Linked DNA regions of Homo sapiens: regions 2, 3, 4, 5, 6 and 7 are each linked to region 1. Evidence: promoter capture Hi-C in 16 types of primary human blood cells and fetal thymus (Javierre and others, 2016). All regions are on one chromosome and are shown on one strand. The core of a region is centred on a gene start or on the middle of the fragment in contact, and the rest is flanking DNA. Distances in the headings are between cores, read along the strand shown.

Region 1 (2,700 bases), core at 178-2,677:
ATACTGAGATTCTAATTTTTGAGACAGGGTCTGGCTCTGTCACCCAGGCTGGAGCACAGTGGCTCCAGCCACTGCACGATCACAGCTCACTGCAGTCTTGACATCCTGGGCTCAAGCGATCCTCCTGCCTCAGCCTCCCAAGTAGCTAGGACTACAGGTGCAGGCCACCACACCCGGCTAATTAAGAAAAAAAAATTTTTTTTTTTTTTTGTAGAGACTGGGTCTCTGTTGCCTAGGCTGGTTTTGAACGCGAACTTCTGGGCTTAAGTGATCCTCCCATCTCTGCCTCCTAAAGCACTGGGATTATAGGCATGAGCCACTGCACACGGCCAGATTGTAATTCTTAAAGCTGTACTAAAACAGCAGGAAGACTGGTAGACGTCTACTGAAATGTCAGCGCATTCGAAGTTTCTGATAACTGCAGCGCTTCCCTCCCAGACTACAATCTACAGTGACTGGCCTCTAACAGAAACATGGTTGTACCACTAGACACTCCAAGGAGTTCCTAGGAATTTGGAATTGAGACTGAGAAACTGAATACTGACTTGGAGTGGTCTGCTACACAGAAGACACACAAACCTGGAGGCAGCAATATAGTAAAGTGATTAAGACAACAGGATTTGGAGCAAGAACTGTACTATCTCAACTTTTCAGGGCCTGATTACTGTCGTAAAATCTAGATAATATAACTAGCTTAACATAACGGGTCTTCAATAAACAGCAGATTTTATTTGTACAGTAGGAGCTGCAGTTATCTGGAAGCCTAGATTTGTGTCTCAGTCATGCCACTTAACTGCTGCGTGCACAACTTTTATGTCTCGGGGTTTACATTTCATATTTATATAGAAATGTAAATAACAAGGCAATCAATACCTCCTAAGTGCCGATTAACAGTGGTAACGAAGACGAGAGAAGTAAACGAAGGCGATAAAACTGGTCAACTCTTTGCATCTGGGAAGGATGCCAAAAGTTTGCAGTTTCAAGTTCCAAGTCCTCCGTACCTGGTCTCCCACCCCTCTGTCAGTGGGCATGTGACGTAGGAGGTCCGGGTTTGTATCACCACCTCCAAGGACGAGACATTCCGGGGAATCTGAGAGTAGAAGGGGCTGTACCTCAACCGGCAGTACGCCCGCGGTTTTCCGCCTCCTGTTCTCAGCCACCATTTCCTCCTCCTCTTTCCCCTCATCTCCGGGCACGAGCTCGGCCGCGGTGGGAGCGCCAAAAATACACCCCAAGCTTGGACGGTTCCTTTTGGGGAGAGACACCCGCCGGCGGATGCGGGAACCACATTCATCCATGGCAAGGACCCAGGGCCCTATTCAGACGTCGTTCTCAGTGACCCAGACGCTAAGCCCATATGGAAGGGAGAGTGGGACGCCGGAGCCCGCTTCTACATCCACCTTGGGAAAAGACCCCAAGTTAGCTCTCAGGGCTCGCGGACCGGAAGCACGCATAAACTTCTACCCTGTCCAATCATAAGCCTCACGTGACCTGCCGCGTAGGGAGGGCACGAACAGAAAGGTGCTGCGCATGCGTATTGAAAAACCTCACCTACTCTCGCGGGTCCTCAGCGTTCTCCTGCGGAACCTTTGAACGGGGTACTCGAGCCCACAGGGGAAGAGCAGCGGAAGGGGCCTTTCGGAACGATTTGGAACGAAAGGAAGTGGAAGAAACGCGGAACCATGGCCGCTGTGGTTGCTGTTTGCGGTGGTCTAGGGAGGAAGAAGTTGACACACTTGGTAACGGCTGCTGTCAGCCTTACACATCCCGGGACTCACACGGGTAAAGTCTCCATATCCTATGCTCCATTGTAGCGCTGCAGGCATTAACCTTAGTCCTAATGGTTAGAGTCGTCCCTGTTAGCAAAACGACTCTGGTTTCTAGGCGATTAAGTTTCTCCAAGATGGGTGGGAATCTGTAATTGCCTTTGACTGTTTTAGTGTCGTCTAATCCACTCCTTTAAAGTATTTAAACGTATGAGGAAGTTGGAGTGGTTCTTAAAAAGCAGAGACTTTCCTAAGATCTCTGGATAATCTTAGTGAGGAAGGGACATTTCCAGAGTCGCCCAGCAGCAAATTCCAGATGTCTAAGGTCCCCAAACAGAACAAAATTGCATAATTTTTGCAATTTTATCTTCTCTGTGCTTCTCTATAAATTCTTTCTGGGACGGGTCTGTTACTTTCTTTTTGGTATGACAGTGCCTTTCTGTTGCTTCTCCTATAAGAATTTGCATTAAGAATTTTCTCTAACCATGGAATGAAGGGAAAATAAATGTCAGAAAGAGCAGGTATGGGCGGGAAAATATGTTCTTTTCCCCCTAAGCCCTGGAAAGCACACCCATGTTGAGTCTTACTCTGTCCCAAATATAAAAGTTTTTAACCATTCTGAATATAATACAAAACCTTTCTTTAATATCGTGTCCCTTAATTCATCCTGTCTCCATAAAAACAAAAATCTTTAGCTATTCAGCTAAGAAAAAGAAATGGTTAATTGCTGTTTCTGTTTAATCGCAGTGCTTTGGAGAAGAGGTTGTTCACAACAGGTATCCAGCAATGAGGACCTGGTAAGAATTTTTTTTTCTATTAGTAAGGCCTTTGCAAATATGACCAAAATGTTTTTCTTTTTAAAACGAGATCTGGTATTAGACTCTAACATCTTTTATTTTAGCTACTTGAATAGAGTTCTGCCGTAGGACAAAAC
Region 2 (2,700 bases), core at 148-2,647, 1.5 Mb after region 1:
GCACTTAGAGAGGCTAAGGCAGGAGGATCACTTGAGGCCAGGAGTTCAAGATCAGCCTGAGCAACACAGGGAGACCCTCATCTCTACAAAAAATAGAAAAATTAGACAGGCATGGTGGCATGCACATGTAGTCCTAACTTCTTGGGAGGCTGTGGGAGAAGGATCACTCGGGCCCAGAAGTTCAAGGCTGCAGTGAACCGTGATCGTGCCACTACACCCCAGCCTGGGCAACAGGGCAAGACCCTGTCTCTAAAAAAAGAAATAAATAAATAAATTAAGAACAACTGATGTAAACTTTTAAAATTGCAAAGTTGAGCAGTGGAATTTAAGAATCTCTTCAAAGCAGAGAATCCAACTAATATTGAAATATACTGTCATTTACTTTTTCAAAAACAGATTATGCAAGAGTAGAACATTGTATTTTCTAACTTATCCCTCCTTTTTGGAGGTGATACAAATTTTTTGAAACATTTTTTTTTTTCTTTACAAAAATTGTTTTCTCTTTGTTGCCCAGGCTGGTCTCTAACTCCTGGCCTCAAGTGATCCCCCAGCCTTGGCCTCCCAAAGTGCTGGAATGACAGGCATGACCCACTGTGACCCACCAAAAGCATACATATATTTCAGATGAATCCATTTTAACTCATGGAAAGAAACTAGCAGTAGAAACCTCTTTCTAGCAGCTTGAGATAGAATGGTTCAAAGTATTAACATACTTTACTATTGCTCAAATATCATAGGAAGAGTTCTCAATTCTAATGCAATATATATTTTTAAACATAAAAACATACCAACCTAATTCCTATACTTAAGAGTCTCATGATAAAGTTTTATTTTTTTTAAAGTCGGATTTTTTTACTAGACTTATGCACTAATACAACATGTTTTTCTATAAATTAGCACATTTTTAGTTCTGTTTTATGTTATGTTTGTTACGTCGCCTGATAGTCGAAACCAGTTGTTCTCAACCTGCTACCAAATACCAACCTGGAAATATGCCACTATTTAAAAAGCCCGAAGAATAGGGTTTTGTTTTTCCTTTTTAATTGTTTGGTGTTCAAACTACATAGTAAACCAGTTGGCAACCATTACTGAACAAAAATAGTTTTTCGTATGCATGAGCACCATTTTCCAACAGAAAACACTTAACCATTTTTAAGGTACTGGAAGTCCATGCAAGGGTTCACATATGCAGTAAATATCCTTTCAATCTGGTTGTATCACATTGTTTCTGTGAAAGGAAGACCTGATATTGCAGATCTCACAATTAAATGGTAAAAATCAATGAAAAACTGCACCTGAGGCTCAAACACTAGCCAGATGGCCTTTGGTTGGAAAGGTCTCATCTGCTTCTTAAATCCCGCCGTAACTGTGAATGTTTGCGATGCCACCACATCCCCAGTACAAGAGAACTGGAGCATCTCTGGCTCCTTCCATAATCGAAGGGCTTCCAGCGTAGGGCGTAGGGGGAGAGGCCCGAAGCCCTGGAGACAGCGCCCGAGGGATGGAGGCCGCGCTCGGCTGCGCTCAGGTCCGGGTGGCTCCGGGAGCTGAGACCCCGCAGGATGCAGCGGGGGGGGGCCAGGGCCTGATCCCCTACCCCTGCGAGCCAGGGCCGCCTACGCCCCCACTGCTTCCCACAGGTAACGTCCAGCCCTCTCCTCCCCTATCCCCCGAAATATCCCGGTTCCGCTCCGCTCCGCTCGCCGCCCGTGACCCCGACCCCGACCCGTCCGCGACGGCGCCCTCCCCAGGAGGCAGCGGAGGACTAGGGCCAGGCCGCCCACCCTGGCGGCGGCGGCGGCTCCCGGCCAAGGCGGACCCTGGGGAGGACAGCAGCTGGGCCGCGGCCTGTCCCTAGGGGGAGCGGGCGCAGGGCCGCGAGTGGGCAGCGCCTCCGCCCCGCACGAACAAAGCGGCCAGGCGCGCCGGGCCGAGGCAGCACCGCCTCTCCGGGAGCGCGGGGGGCGGGGAGGATGGCGGGGGTACTCACCTGAGGGCCGGCGGAGGGCGCGGGCGGGACAGGCCCAGGAGACGGGACCGCGGCGGGCCGGGGCTCCGCGCCGAGGGCGCACGGGCTACGGGGAAGGGGCGACCGGCGCGACGTCCGCGGCGGGGCCCGGGAGCCCCGCGCCGCGGGCCGGGGGCCGGGGCCCGAGCTCGATTCTGCGGCCGCGAGGTATGGGAACCGGTCCGCCGGGCCAGGCAGCGGTGCTAGGCAGCAGGGGCAGCGACGCCGCCGCCTTTCCCTTCTCCTGCCCCCGTCCCTGCTCCGCCGCGTCCTCGTCCTCGCTGGGTCCCCGCCGCCGCCGCCTCAGCCTCGGCGCTCCTCGGGTTTCTTCTCTCCATCAAGGCCGGGCCGACCCGCAGGGACCATCCCGGAAAGTGAGGGGTTGTTGCCGTTTCCCGCAGCTGTTGGTGGCCATCTTTAATCCTCCTCCTCCTCCTGCTTTCTCCACCTCCCGCTGGCTGTCTGACTGACTGACTGGATCCTCCTCTTTCCCCTCCTGCTCCTCCTACTGAGCCGGCCGCAGAAATTGCAGCCGCTCAGCTTCTACCCCCTCCTGCCTTTCCTTCCTCTTTCCTTACTTCCTTCCCTTCCCTCGGCTTCCCGCTCTTGCCTCACTCTCAGCGGCTGCCTTCGCCCCTGTCTGCAGACAGCGCCGCTGGATGCTCCCAGCTGGACTTCAACCCCACTCCTCT
Region 3 (2,700 bases), core at 194-2,693, 1.2 Mb after region 1:
TCAAATTTTGTTCTCTCTACTGCATGGAGCAGTGAATGGATTTTAAGACAAAACTGCTCTCTGGATTACAAACTTTAACATCTATTTGCTTTTCAAACAACACTAAATCAAAGAAAAGGTAGTAACTTTTATAAAATGAGTATCTATCAACTTCAAAAACAATGAGTCATTTTTTTAGAAGAAAAATTTATTTATTTTTTTAAGAGACAGTGTTTTGCTGTTTCCCAGGCTGGAGTGCAATGGCTATCACAGGCACAGCCCACCACTGATCAGCATGGGAATTTTGATCTGCTCCATTTCCAACCTGAGTTGGTTCACCCCTCCTTAGGCAACTTGGTGGTCTCTGACTTTCAGGAGGTCACCAAATCGGTGCTGACCTTAGTGCAGACACCTGATGGGTATAGTGCCTACAGCCCAGAAGTCCTGGGCTCAACTAATCCTCCTGCGGTAGCCTCCTGAGCAGCTGCAACTCAGACATGTTCCCCTGAGCCCCACCATTTTTAATTGAGTTTGGCCAAGACTACTTGTTTACCTAAACATAAGTGGGCAATTTACTACTTACTGTTAATTCATTGATACAAAGAGCAGAAACTGGAGCTCGATGCCCTCGAAGCTGGGTTAGAAATGACAGTTTGTTCAAATCCCAAATGATACAGGTTCGATCACGGGACCCACTGACAATTATGTGATAGGCTAATGATGCTGTGGCGCAGGTGACGGTATCAGTGTGGCCCAGTAAGGCCTACGAATGAGAACAAACAAACAAAATCAGGTTGATCTCAGTGACAGGGTTCCACAGTGACTCCAGAAGCTCCTGGATGCATCAGGAAGCAGTGGCACGCATGCTAGGTAGTAGGTGACTTGAGCAGTGGTGTCTGGAGAGTCTGGAAGGCAGACCTCCTTTCTCCTCCTGCTGACTACCCTTGCCTCAGCCCACGGGGGTAGAGAGAAGCCTGGAGCACTCTGGAGGCTCTTTACTTTCACATTAGTTCTTTCCTGGAGTTGGGCCAGGATCTTAGAAGGAAGAGGGAATGACAACCACAACCCAGCTTGGGTTTCTTTATACCATTTTTATGTAGAGATGTATTGATTATGGGCATCAAAAATACAGAATTTCAACTCTATATCCATTCTTTTATGCCACAAACTCCTGTTCAGACCATTCTAAAGAATTACAATTGAATGAATTTTTTTTTAAAAAAATGCATAAACTGCGAGAACCACATGGCTGTAGCACGTGGTCTACAATAGACAAAGCGAGAATGTAGTCCTGAGGCGTCAACATGCTGAAGTCCTGCTGCCAATCGGAGATATCTGAGTATCTGTGCCTGAGAGGAATTCTTTCTTTAAACTAGAAAAAGAACTTCCCTCTTTTGCTGGAATATGAAGAGAAAAAGGACCCAAGGAAATGGCAATGTGTGAAAATAAGTAAATATTCTGAAGAAAAAGATTTAGATTACTGTTAGTAGTTCCTAAGTACTTAGAATGGGCCATCTGCCCTGGCAGAAAAATATATCCGCTTAATAATGAGTTGGCTTCATCTGCCGCCTTCCACACTAGAATGTAAGAGGTTGCCTCCTATTGTACATTTGGGGAAAGCCTTGGGTGTAAATCAGTGTAAACTTGGAGGAGAGATTTTGCTATCATGTAGAGTAGGTATTTTTTACAGATTGAAGGTTGATAAATTTTTTAATACTTTTGAGAGAGAAAACTATCTGTGTATACACATGAAGTATATATATGTGTGTGTGTGCATAATATAAAAAAAGAGTTGGCTTAAAATTTTGGTCATATAGACATCTTTATTGCATGCTTAGCAAACCCCAGGAAACTATTTTAAGCAGGAAGTCCTTTTTCCTGGCACATTACTTTCAAAGTGCATTTTCTAAATGGAAAATATTTTTAAGCATAATTTGAATCAGCAAAATGTACTATTAACCTTGTAATCTGTTCACTTCAAGACTTTCTCCCTCTTTATATGGCTTGCCTCAGGACCCAGCAACTCTGTGAAGTTTCTGGCCTATACAGATGATTCAGTTTTATACTGAACAGGGGTTCAATTTTTTTCTATAGGTATTTATGACACCACTGTTTGAGTTTGGCTTTATAATAGCTTTGAAGTCAGACAGAACTTAATTTAAATTATAGCTTTACTGCTACATGTGACTTTAGACTTGTGTCTTGACCACTCTAACCTGTGTCTTTTTCAGGGGTAAAATGGGGCTAATAACTACCTTGTAGAATTGTGTCGACTAGAGTTTTGTATTTGTAGAATACTCAACACAGTCCCCTGAAATAGAGGTGCTCAATAATTGATAAGTGGTATTGTTACATTATTTTTCAAATTTATATCATTAAAAATACTTAGATATATGCTCCTTATTTAAAAAATACCTTATGGTAAGTTCTCTCACAGATCAAATATTAAGAAATGGCTTAATTATAAAAGGACTCTTGCTTTAAGTAAAAATTAATAATAGAATCATGTATGTAATAGACAATCAGAAATACTCGTTAATTAAATCATCAAGGGCTCTACTGAATATATTCATGAGTTTGGCATATCCTTAAGTATATGACAAATGAGAAAAGAGAGAAACAAAAAATAAAGAATTTAGTGGCAGATAAATGGAAATCACCCTGGAAGGAAATTAATATGAGTCAATAGCAAACATAATTCAGTTTGCAAAAATTCAATTT
Region 4 (2,700 bases), core at 74-2,573, 1.1 Mb after region 1:
TTGCCCAAGGTCAAGTTCGTGGCTCTTGAAACTAGAATCTAAGTTTCCTGATTCCTTTTCTTCTGGTTTATGTGGTTGCTGAGACTGGCTGGCAGTTCTGATTTGGGGAGGATTCCACCTGAAAGTTGATGTTGATGAGTTTGATGTAACCCAAATTACAAAGCCCTAATAGGAACATATCACATGATATCACGAAATAAACGTAAACGTGATTCTTAGTACTAAAACTTTAGAATCAATGGAATCAATGTAGTGACACTTTTCCCCTTACCCTTGATAGTAAGTAGAATAAAATGAGTCTGTAATAAAACATAAGTGTCAAGGAATTACCCAAAATATAACAATTTCCAGCTACTGAAGGTTGAAGTTACAAAACTAGGAACAGTGGGCTGAGAATAGTCTTTGTGAAAACTGCCTTGGAAACTAGACCCAAAATAGAATTAATTAGGTTGGGATTTGTTTTGTTTTGTTTTTAGCACTGGTATAGTTTAGCATCAAGGAAATACCAGCTTCTCTATGCTGACTTCCTTAACTCGACAAAGCTAACAAGCTTTTGTTAAGAGAAAAGATGTTCAGGAAGCCATGCATAAAATACCTTCGGAATTAAGTTTTTTCTTTTTTTAACACCATAATGTATTTAAAATGGAAACTACTTCTGTAGTGTGATTTGACTCATTAGAACTGTTGTCTCTAGCTATCTGTGACTAGGTTACCTCGCTGCATATTTATTTATTTATCAATGCAGTACTGTTGGTTTTTATTGACACATGTCCAGCTGGATTTTGTTTTCTGAAAGTAGACTTTGCTATATGTAACCTGTTTTGTCAAGATTTCTTAGACAAGGATGAACATATTCAAACCATATCTAAAATACTGCTCTACTTTTAGAGTTTATCATGAGGAACTTTTGACTTGGCAAGCTGATAGATATTGAACTCTATCCCTGTCTGTCCTTTCTTATCAGGGTGTGTATTTGAATACACCTGTATTTCCAGGTCAAGGGCTATTTTAAAATCAGTTTGCACACTGGAGGCTGGTTAATATTTGGTCAATTCAAACTCATTAAGGGCCTTCCCTGTTCAGTTGCAGTAAAGGCAAAACTCTTGGGGAATTAGTGAAAGAAGTGAAGGAGGTACATTATATTCTGCTATTATAATACACTCCCATGCATTGCCATTTTGTAGTCTTTTAATAATGGTGTTATTAACATGACACTCCCTTTGTTCCGGACTGGTGACTTATGCTGAGAGAAGGCTCTGTACTCCAGATAATTAGCAAGTGAAAAAAATACTTCTTACCTGCAGAGGAATGTTCCCAAGTGTTAAATGTTGGAGTGGTACTTGAAAAATGACAAGGGACATCTTCAAGGAACCCTGCAGGAGACATATATGAGTTAGATTTATTGGAAGTCTGTACAAGGCTCATTGTTAGCATAGAGGGCATGCTTGGCGTCTACCTGGAGACTGTAGGAAAAGCTCTAAACAGTGGATGAGGATTGAGCTGGGAATGAAAAGATTCCTGGGACTCACCAGGTTTACAAGGGTTTGGGTAGGGTGTTCTAGGCAAAGGACGTGTTGGGTTTTTTCTTGAATCAGCATTCTAGGCACAGGGTTGCAGATACAGAGGAAGAGATAATGAAGGTCCTGAGAGCAAAAGGAGGAGGCATTGCTTAGAGCAGTGGTCCCCAAATTTTTTGGCACCAGGGATCAGTTTTGTGGAAGACACTTTTTTCCACGGATGGGTTGGGGGGATGGTTTCAGGATGATTCAGGTACATTACATTTATTGTGCACTTTATTTCTATTATTATTACATTGTAATATATAATGAAATAATTATACAACTCACCATAATATAAAATCCATGGGAGCCCTGAGCTTGTTATCCTGCAACTATACAGTCCCACCTGGGGGTGATGGGAGACAGTGACAGATCATCAGGCCTTAGATTCTCATAAGGAACATGCAGCCTAGATCCCTCGCATGTGCAGTTCACAACAGGGTTCAAGCTCCTGTGAGGATCTAATGCTGCTGTTGATCTGACAGGAGGCAGCGCTCGGTGGTAATGCGAGTGATGGGGTGTGGCTGTAAATACAGAGGAAGCTTCACTCGCAGACCACTCACCTGCTCTGCAGCCGGGTTCCCAACAGGCCCAGTTCCTAACAGGCCGGTACTGGTCTGTGGCCTGGGGGTTGGGGACCCCTGGCTTAGAGGACATCATCAGTAGTACTTAGGAATAAGGGCTGAGATAGAACGTGGAGTTTAGCAAAAGATCTAAGTAGAAGCAAGTTTAGGTTGAGGAAATTGAGAGGTGAAATGTTGGTAGTTATTGTTATAAAGTGGCAGTGAAAGGAATACAGGATGGCAACTAGAGAGACAGGAGGATTAATGAAGATTTTTCTTTTCAGAGGAGGGGAGATATATATTTGTATGAAAGTCAAATGAGTAAAGATGTTGAAGACAATGGGTAGGCCCTAGGAAAAAGAAAGCAAACATGGGGTAGAGACTATGGATTATTGGGATATCCAAGGAAAGAAAAGAGGGATGCATGTCTTTTCCTTAAGAAAAGAAAGACGGAATGAAGAGTGGATACAGGAACATTTTGAAAAGCAGAAAGGAGAAGATCAAATGTTGGATGCCTTCAGTTAGTAAAGTAGGAACTCAGAACCAATGAGCTTCAAGGGATCTTAGAAACAACTTGG
Region 5 (2,741 bases), core at 73-2,572, 1.0 Mb after region 1:
GGGGGCTGCCGAGGGATGAGAGCCCCCCCGTGGCCGGGGGCTTCAGGCCGCCTGGGTTGTGGGTGCCCAGAGGCGGGGAGGGCGACGAGGAGGACGACGACGAGGACGAGGAGGAGGGGGGGCCGGCAGGCAGCGGGGGATACGCGGCAGGGTACAGCGGGGTCTTCATCTCGGCCATGCTGTGCAGGGCGGCCAGGGGAGGGCTGCTGAGCAGGAATGCGCTCTGCCGGGTGCCCTCCATTGCCCCCACCGCTAACATCCCACGGCCACGCCGGAGACCGTAGCCTTGCAGCGAGGGCGCTGGCTGGTGCCCCCCGCGGGGCTCAGAGGAGCCGGAAGCGCCGAGGGCGCGAGCGGAGAGGCACTCGGCGCGCCCGGAGGCGAGCTGCCAACTGAACCAAAAATGCCGCTGCCGGGAGTTGCTCGCCTAGCTGCGCAGCAGAGATGTCCAAACCCTCCACGCGGGAGGCGGCAGCTCGCCGAGAAAAGCAGGCGTCCCGGCGGGCTAGGCAGTCCTTTCGTTCCGCGAGTCCTAGATTCGATCCCTGGCTATTCTCTCTTCCTCACTTTTCCTAGCTGTTCAAAGTGCGCTACTTCTCATCTTCTGCCCCCGGGAAATAAGCAAAACAAAACCCAGGCTGGCTCCGGAGAGTTTGTAGCAAAGTTAGTTGCCGAATCTCCACTTTGAAGTTGGAGGGTGGGGGTGGCTTGCTTTCTTTGGGGAGGTTCAAAGGACGCCTTGTGCAGCCCGTGGCGCTCCTCTGATCTTACTGGGATGCTCTGCTCTTTCGGTCGCGCGGCTGATTCGCATTCGACGCTCACTGTGCCCGGGGAGAAAGCGCATCCAGCCCGCGGGAGATCTAGCCTCTGTGCGGGCTTCCTCCGCCCACGCTGCCCCGGGCTGCTGCGCCAGAAAGGGCAGTGCCACGGATCCCCGCGGCTCCCAGGTCCTCACCTCCACCCGCCTTGCCCTCTGGCCCACGGGGCACTGGAGTTGCAATATTGAAAAGAAAAAGGGGGAGGAAAAACACAGAAAAACAAAAGACTAAGTGTGAAAAGTCTGACGGCTGGGTTTCGGCGCCGCTCGTCAGTCCACTTCTGCAAACGGGCCCGGCGACCCCCGCCCCACCCCCGCTCCCTCTCTCCCTCTCACTCTCAGCCTTTGACTCTCCTCTCTGGCATTTTCTTCGCGGCTTCCCAGGCTTCGGTCTTCTAAGTCCTGTCCTCTGGCCAAACTGACCCTCTCCGCGGCTCCTCCGCTCTTTCTCTCCTTTCCTCTCTCCCTCCGGGCCTGACAGTTCAGATGAAGCTCTCAAAGGTAATAAAACATTTGCATCACTCCCTACCCCTCTTTAGCTGGGGGACGAAAGGGAGGGGGAAGTGGGGGACCAAAATGAGAACTTTGAGGGACGTCACTCCGAGGCTGCGGGGGCCGGCGAGCCGGGCGCAGGCCGGGGGCGTAACCACCGTGTCCAATAGCTCGCCGCCTCGATCCTTGCGTCGCCCCTGGGGCTCGCCCACTCGGGGGCGCCGCACCCTCTGATTGGCTGAGGCGGGCCAGGCGTAGGGCCGCGCCCGCCTAGTCCCCTCCCGCTCCCTACTTCTTTCTCCTGTGGGCGGGGCCAGGAGGGGCGGGAGCTGGTGAGTGGTGCGGTTCCGCGCTGGGGCCAGTGGCCGCCTCAATTAATTGTGCTAAATAAAATGAGAAAGGGGAGGGGGAAGCAGAGACGAAGAGGGTATTACTTTTTAAAGAGAGGAATAATGAAAACTCAGCCCTTTTATGGAAAAGCAGTTCATATTCTTCCCTTGCTTCCCCACTAGCCCGCTCGCGTCATCCTATCCCCTTCCCCCACCAGCTCTGGAGGGCGCCTCACCTCGAACCAAGTCTGGTCCCTTGTAAAATGGAGCTAATGGAGCAGGCAGCCGGCGCAGCCCTGGCCTGGCTCCTTCTTTTGAAGGGATTAATTAAAGGCCATCTGGGCTCTCCCAGAATTGTGTAAATTAATTTGTTGCTCCTTAAGCCTTATAGATGTCCTTAATCCCCTTGTAGGCCAAAGGATCGTCCTCTTCCATCTTTCCACCTCCTGCTTTCCTTTTCTGTTCTTTCTCCTCCACTTTATTTTTTTTTTCATTCCCGAGTTCCCCCCCGCCCGTCGCTTCCCACCGCGTTCATTATCATTTATGGGTTACTCAATTCGCTGAAAACTGAATCCGTTTAATAGGAATATTTATCTGTCAGATGATGTTTATACCTGAGAACAGTGAGGGAGTTTTTTCCCTTAACTTTTCTCCCTTTGATTATTGTTGTTATTTCCTTTGGGTTTACATGGGGGTAGAATCATCAAAATTCAGGCGGAAACTTTAGATACAGAAGCATCTAGGTACACCCTGGGAACTGTAAGCTTTTGAAAACCCTCTCCAAAACTCTGGCGCCTACTCCCAATTCTAGAGTTGCTACGGGAGATGGAGATGTACCAGCTCCTGGACAGTGGTGGTGGGATGTCTATCTAGAGTTTAGGAGTTGAAGGGTGGCTTCCTTTACTCTCTAAATCTCTTCCATCTCTGGCTGATCTTTACGTTCCCGACAGGGTTGAACTGCGGGCTGGAGAAGGAAAACCCTTTGACAATTTTGAGAATTCAGCATGTTAAAGTAACACACCATTGGAAGGTGGTCGCTACAGCAAATTTGGATGAGATCATTAATTACAATTTTAATGAGCAGAAAACAGAAATAAACGCAA
Region 6 (2,700 bases), core at 35-2,534, 1.1 Mb before region 1:
AAAATATAAAATTAAGACTGGAAAATCCAGAGACAAGCTGTATCCTTAGAAGAATAAATAGTTAAAATTATTCAGTAAGCTGACGTATTTAACCATTACTGGGCCTGTAAAAAATGCATTAAAATTACATTACAAATAGTTTTTAAAAAGCAAAGAAATAAGTGAAGGCAAAGCTTGAAGTATCCATTTTATTTTATAATGCTGATACAGGATGTTGGAAGAGACCATACCAAACGGCAGCATTCGAGAGCGTGAGCATCTCGTACCCTGTCCGCATTGAGCGGGCCTGTGAGAATCGTGAAGTCAGCGCGACACAGGGCCTGCAATGAAGTTCCCGCTGGCGGGTACAAACAAGGTATAATGTCAGAGTTAGTAGGCAATACTTTTTTGCTGCAATTCCTTAATTTGTACCCATTAGCAGTACTTTACCTGTTAACTTTACTGACTTGTTAATAATAGGACAAAAAGGCAAAAGCTTAAGAGCACCTGTGTTACATATCTTTGAAAGTCACTATGTTATAATATGGTAAGCACTTCTGGGTGCTGTGAAACTCTTAAATTAAGCATTGTTTTATGAACAATATAGATTATAAAAACTACTATTGTAAATGACAAAAAAAAACTATTTTTAGAACATACCTGTTGGGGATAAGTTGCAAATGGAATAATTTAGTATGGTTTGTAGCTATTTTGATGACCACCTCGCCTGGATACCTTCCCATAACCACTCTGCTGGTCTAAAATAAAACAAGTGTTAGAACCAGAACGGTAGTGGTTACATACTAATAATCAGAACAGTACCTAATTTTAAACAATCTCAAAAAATTAAGGGTAGCTTAATTCCCAAGTGTGAAAAATTCACCCTGAGCAATCATTTATCAAATAATTTACCAAATATGTAGTGAATGCATACAATGGCAGGCATTCAGAATGAGCTGATTACTTGACTTATTGTATAAAATGGGAGACAATCCCCTCACCCTTACAGTTTAAAAGTTTTAAGTTTCAAAGGATGGACAGCTGACCCTTTCACAACCACCAGCAAAAAATATCTTAAAATTTAGAACAAATTGTCAACCACAATCAGTGCTTAGTATCTCTGCCCTTCTAAGAAAAGGGCCCCAATCTCACCCAATCCATCTTTGCTGACCTTCTTCTGACTTTAATTAACCTATTATTGTGCAGCAGGCCTAGTCACCTAAGAAAGGATATAACTCCAAGAACTGGTCTAACCAAGGAAGGAAAAGAAAAACCACTTAAAACAATGCAACCAATGCAACCACTCTCCTCCAAAAAAATGTAAGATTGCTTCTAGTAGAACCCTTTACCTGACGACTCAACAGTTGCTACAAATCAGGTGGAGAGCAACTACCTTAGTTGCACAATGAAGTCAGGGCTTTCCATGTCTAAAAGTCAAGTTTTTTGGTTCTATCAAGCTCAACATCTGTTTTAAGAGTTTCTACATTAATAATCCTAAAGCGAGGATACTATTAGTTTTAACTGGCAACATGTGGTATTATTCAGTTTTATAGGATTAAGACACATCATGCCAAGATTATTGGTTGGTCCAAGAAGTGACATTTAGAATACCTTGAGCTTAAAAGATCTGAACTGAGCTTAAAATTTTTAAATCCAAGTAAAACAAATGCCCAGCAAACATATATAGAACCACACATACACCCTACCCTTATAATGTGTGTGTGATATAGGCTGGGAGGAACCAAGCAATAAAATGGCTGCAGTTTCAAGTTTCCAGGAATTTGAAACCTGAAGACATTTGCACTTGGCAAGGCTACACTAACCTTTCTGCCTATCCAAATTTGTACAAAATAAATGTCAAATAGCAGTTAATATAAAAAGTATAGTACTTACTGCTATAATCACCATATCCATAGTAGTTGTTGTAACCAGTGTAGTCATATCCTCCATAACCACCGTAACCTTGGCTGTTATATCCATAGTTGCCATAGCCTTGATTCCAATAGTTACTATATCCCTGGTTCCAGTTTTGACTGGGGCCTGCAGCACATTAATAGGTTCACTAAAGTCAGAAGATCAGCAAAGATCTTTACTTCAGGATAATTAAAAAGCAGAAAAGCTTAAGATAGAGTAAACTTAGGCTCTAGCTTACCACCACCTCTTCCACGAGCTCTTCCTGCAAATCCTCCTCTAGATCCCCACTGTTGCTGTTGCTGATATTGTTCCTTCGACATGGCTACTTTTATTTCACACTAAAAGAGAAAAATTACATTATTAAACTGACTCAAGAAAATAAAAGTTGCTAAATAAGTTTCTAATAACCAGAATAGCCAACATGTTTAAATAGAGTAGGCTAATTTGAAACTTTCCTCAGTCAGTTTATTAATTAAACCAATATTTAGTACTTAAGAGTAATCACTTATGAGTACTTGCTAGTGATGTTACTTCATTTTACTTGTCAAGTTCTAAAAACTATTTTTGTGAAAGCCTAGACAAAAACACTAACAAATGTGTCCATCCTGCTCCCCACAAAAAGTTGGTCAATGGTAAGTAACCAATGAGAAGTTTTTAAAGCATGCAAAGAACTTAAGCCTTTACAGAGAAAGATAAATGGTTAAGCTCTTTACAACAGCTAGTTTTCTCTACAAGTAAATGGATGCTTAACTTACTTTACTAAGACCAACATTGTGGTATTTCTTTTCCATTATCTTCTTCACTGGT
Region 7 (2,700 bases), core at 2-2,501, 1.2 Mb before region 1:
AACAACAGTGAAATGTCCCATTTCACCTTCCCAGGATCCTAGCTTCTCACCACTCTTTCTGCTGCATCCTCAAGATTGTATCAAACTATCAAGGGAAAGGTGGAAATGTCTGTGATATTTTATATTACCTGCCGTGGTTTTCATTCTCAGTTATTCTCTTTGGCACAAAAATGGAGAATGAAAAAAATGGAGGAGGAGGAAGGAGAGATGGAGGAAGAAGAGAGTAAGACAGAAAAGCTTCTCATTCTAAAAAGTTTCAAAATAGATTTTGGGAACTCTCTGAAAACAGAGTATATGGGGAAAAAAAGGTTTCAGACAATCAACGTTCATGGCATCAACTGGGAAAACGCCCAGGGTGGTCAGAGTTGCCCTACCTAGACTTGCTGGAATGTCCACATGTCAGAGAAGGACAGAATGAGAAGGAAGCACTCCAACTAGCTAGAGCCCTCTCTAGGAAGTGAGGGGTGACATAGTGTGGTGATGAGAAGACTCCTAGTAAATTGGGGATCCAAGAGCTTGCTTCCCAAATGAAGTAAGGTCTAAAAGCTGCTCCCCACATGATAGCAGTGACACAGCACAACAGGAGAGTGCGACAGGAGGGCATATTGTGACACAGCCTCTGGAGCCACCCGCAGCCTCACAATGACATGTGGGAGCAGTGGGAATTTTTCTTCGCCTCCAAGAGGACCAAAAAAGTGACTGAAAGAGAAACAGAGCACCTAAAGGGGCCTTGGGGTTCCAAGTAGAGTGTGTGACTGGTGATCAGAGACAGACAGAAAACAAACATTAGCTGCAGATTCCACCTTAGAGGGACGAAGGTCACTAATTGGAAGCTCTTTCCCTCCACCAAGTTTCCCACACTCAGAGATGCCACCCCATGGGGAAAGAAGGAAAGGGAGAAATCCTGAGTTAAGTGAGGAAACCTGGCATTGACTAGAGTAAGCCTTGGCTATCAGGCATAATACAGCATACAGAAAACATACAGGAAGGAAAGAAAGCACAAGGGACAGTATGCAATTGGAGGGGAGGATTAAAGGCTTAGAATGACTGCTGTGCTGAAAGCTCACCAGGGAGAAGGGGCTCAAAAAAGATAGATTTGTGGTGAGGTTTATTCGGTTTGTTTTTACTGTAAGCAAGACCCTGGGGTAAGCAAAAGCATTACCCCAGAGTTAACAAATTTCCTCTTCCCAGGTATAAGTAATGTGACCAGTGGTTTTAATCAGTCACCCTGCCTGTAACACAGACACACTTATCAAGCTGATAAGACACACTGATTCGAGATTTCCTGTATATAGGATACATGATTCAACAAGGCATTTTTCTCAGGAGCTATAGTGCAGACCAGTTTCGCTCCTTCCTTGTCAAATCCAATTTGATTACCCTGTGTTAAAGGAAATGGAATTGACTACCTGCCTTCACCCAGACACCCAGAAGGATACTGATTGTCATTCTTTAAGGTTACACCATTGGGTTCAGGCGCAGTGACACACCTGTAATCCCAGCACTTTAGGAGACCAAGGAGAGTGGACCACTTGAGGTCAAGAGTTCAAGACCAGTTTGGCCAACATGGTGAAACCCCGTCTCTACTAAAAATACAAAAATTAGTCAGGCGTGGTGGCACACACCTGTGGTCCCAGCTACTCAGGAGGCTGAGGTGGAAGGATCGTTTCAACCCAGAAGGTGGAGGTTGCAGTGAGCCGTGATCATGCCACTGCACTCTAGACCCTGTCTCAAAAAAAAAAAAAGATTACACCATTGGGAGCAAGAAAGTAATATGTACTTATCACAAATTACTGCAATTGCATAACTACTGTATGCTAATATTTTTGCATAATTATTTCATTTAAACTTGACAATTACCCCCATTTTATGAACTAGGAAACTGACTCTCAGAAAGATTAAGTTACATAAACTCATGGAGTACATGGGCAATGCCCATATATGAATCTAAGTTTGTCTGACTTCAAAGGCAAACTCTTTCCACTCTACCACAATACCTTGGTGATGAAAATATATAAGGTCACACTTTTAAAAAATTATTGTCAAGGCACCCAAGGTCTAAGACAACAAAAGTCATGCTACCACTCCTTCCACTCTGCCCTCCTACCTACTCTCTCATACACCTTTTCTCTGCCACACTCATCCCCCAAACCCACCTGCCTTCTTTCAAGCCTTTACAGAAGCTATTCCCTCTGCCTAGACTCTCCTATCTTTCTTTCCTCCCCACTTAGAGAACGCCAACCCATCCTCTAAGTCAAGGACTTTTAAAGCTTTGCTAGCTCTCCATCCCATCTTCTGCAGCTTTGTTCATCTTTCCCTGATAGCACACGCATACCACTTGAGACTGGCGTTTCTCCGCCTGTGCCTCTGTAACCACTACTAGAATATGAACTCCTCAACTTCAAGGTCGGGGCCGACCTACTTGCATACCCAGGAATCTAAGGCATTTAGCGCACAGCCGGAGTTCAATAAATGCCTGGATTAATGAATTAATTTTCTTTAAAATCAAGGTCTACATTTCACATGCTCTAGATTGTGAATAAATCATAAGGAGGTAAACACTATGAAGTACACTGGCGCTCGACAAATGATTTTAAGGAGAAAGGCTGCCACCCAAAGCAGGTTTCTCCAGAGACCCCGCCCGTGTCCCGTCAAACGCGCCGCTAGGGCTGGAGACGGCCCCGCCTCTCTCCCTGCCAA

The links. Contacts are between HindIII fragments. The CHiCAGO score rates a contact against its expected background, and 5 or more counts as called.
Region 2: a contact is called between the fragment with the promoter of WDFY3-AS2 here and the fragment with the promoter of HELQ in region 1, in 1 of 17 cell types (M2 macrophages). The highest score is 5.8, in M2 macrophages.
Region 3: a contact is called between a fragment that was not itself captured here and the fragment with the promoter of HELQ in region 1, in 1 of 17 cell types (M0 macrophages). The highest score is 5.7, in M0 macrophages.
Region 4: a contact is called between a fragment that was not itself captured here and the fragment with the promoter of HELQ in region 1, in 1 of 17 cell types (non-activated CD4 T cells). The highest score is 6.2, in non-activated CD4 T cells.
Region 5: the fragment with the promoter of NKX6-1 here is called in contact with the fragment with the promoter of HELQ in region 1 in 6 of 17 cell types (monocytes, fetal thymus, naive CD4 T cells and 3 more); the score reaches 12.8 in monocytes.
Region 6: a fragment that was not itself captured here is called in contact with the fragment with the promoter of HELQ in region 1 in 1 of 17 cell types (fetal thymus); the score reaches 5.4 in fetal thymus.
Region 7: a fragment that was not itself captured here is called in contact with the fragment with the promoter of HELQ in region 1 in 4 of 17 cell types (fetal thymus, activated CD4 T cells, naive CD8 T cells and 1 more); the score reaches 9.1 in fetal thymus.

What each region holds. Positions count from the first base shown.
Region 1 is chr4:83,454,396-83,457,095 of GRCh38, forward strand. It overlaps HELQ (helicase, POLQ like), which reads right to left and starts at 1,428. Exons shown (of 18, transcript NM_133636.5): 1 at 1,002-1,428. The coding sequence starts at 1,298. MRPS18C (mitochondrial ribosomal protein S18C) reads left to right here and starts at 1,663. Exons shown (of 6, transcript NM_016067.4): 1 at 1,663-1,782; 2 at 2,514-2,563. The coding sequence starts at 1,683. RefSeq lists enhancers at 676-1,506, 935-984, 1,325-1,434, 1,421-1,715. The HindIII fragment of the contact is 1,733 bases long and covers 1,235-2,700 here.
Region 2 is chr4:84,964,219-84,966,918 of GRCh38, forward strand. It overlaps WDFY3-AS2 (WDFY3 antisense RNA 2), which reads left to right and starts at 1,398. Exons shown (of 4, transcript NR_152775.1): 1 at 1,398-1,640. It overlaps WDFY3 (WD repeat and FYVE domain containing 3), which reads right to left and starts at 2,472. Exons shown (of 68, transcript NM_014991.6): 1 at 1,991-2,472. The HindIII fragment of the contact is 8,814 bases long and covers 1-2,700 here.
Region 3 is chr4:84,687,524-84,690,223 of GRCh38, forward strand. It overlaps WDFY3 (WD repeat and FYVE domain containing 3), which reads right to left. Exons shown (of 68, transcript NM_014991.6): 62 at 563-742. It also overlaps the pseudogene RN7SL552P. Among named protein-coding and RNA genes, the nearest start is that of CDS1, 110 kb to the left of the region's middle. The HindIII fragment of the contact is 2,923 bases long and covers 1-2,700 here.
Region 4 is chr4:84,584,489-84,587,188 of GRCh38, forward strand. The region is part of intron 1 of CDS1 (CDP-diacylglycerol synthase 1); the gene reads left to right. Among named protein-coding and RNA genes, the nearest start is that of CDS1, 2.7 kb to the left of the region's middle. The HindIII fragment of the contact is 1,551 bases long and covers 549-2,099 here.
Region 5 is chr4:84,497,970-84,500,710 of GRCh38, forward strand. It overlaps NKX6-1 (NK6 homeobox 1), which reads right to left and starts at 1,323. Exons shown (of 3, transcript NM_006168.3): 1 at 1-1,323. The coding sequence starts at 259. The HindIII fragment of the contact is 5,978 bases long and covers 1-2,400 here.
Region 6 is chr4:82,354,665-82,357,364 of GRCh38, forward strand. HNRNPD (heterogeneous nuclear ribonucleoprotein D) reads right to left here. Exons shown (of 9, transcript NM_031370.3): 5 at 2,649-2,700; 6 at 2,132-2,231; 7 at 1,873-2,019; 8 at 640-737. The coding sequence ends at 670. Among named protein-coding and RNA genes, the nearest start is that of HNRNPD, 18 kb to the right of the region's middle. The HindIII fragment of the contact is 1,623 bases long and covers 474-2,096 here.
Region 7 is chr4:82,282,231-82,284,930 of GRCh38, forward strand. The region is part of intron 1 of LOC105377308 (a long non-coding RNA gene); the gene reads right to left. Among named protein-coding and RNA genes, the nearest start is that of HNRNPD, 90 kb to the right of the region's middle. RefSeq lists a silencer at 2,593-2,700. The HindIII fragment of the contact is 2,033 bases long and covers 236-2,268 here.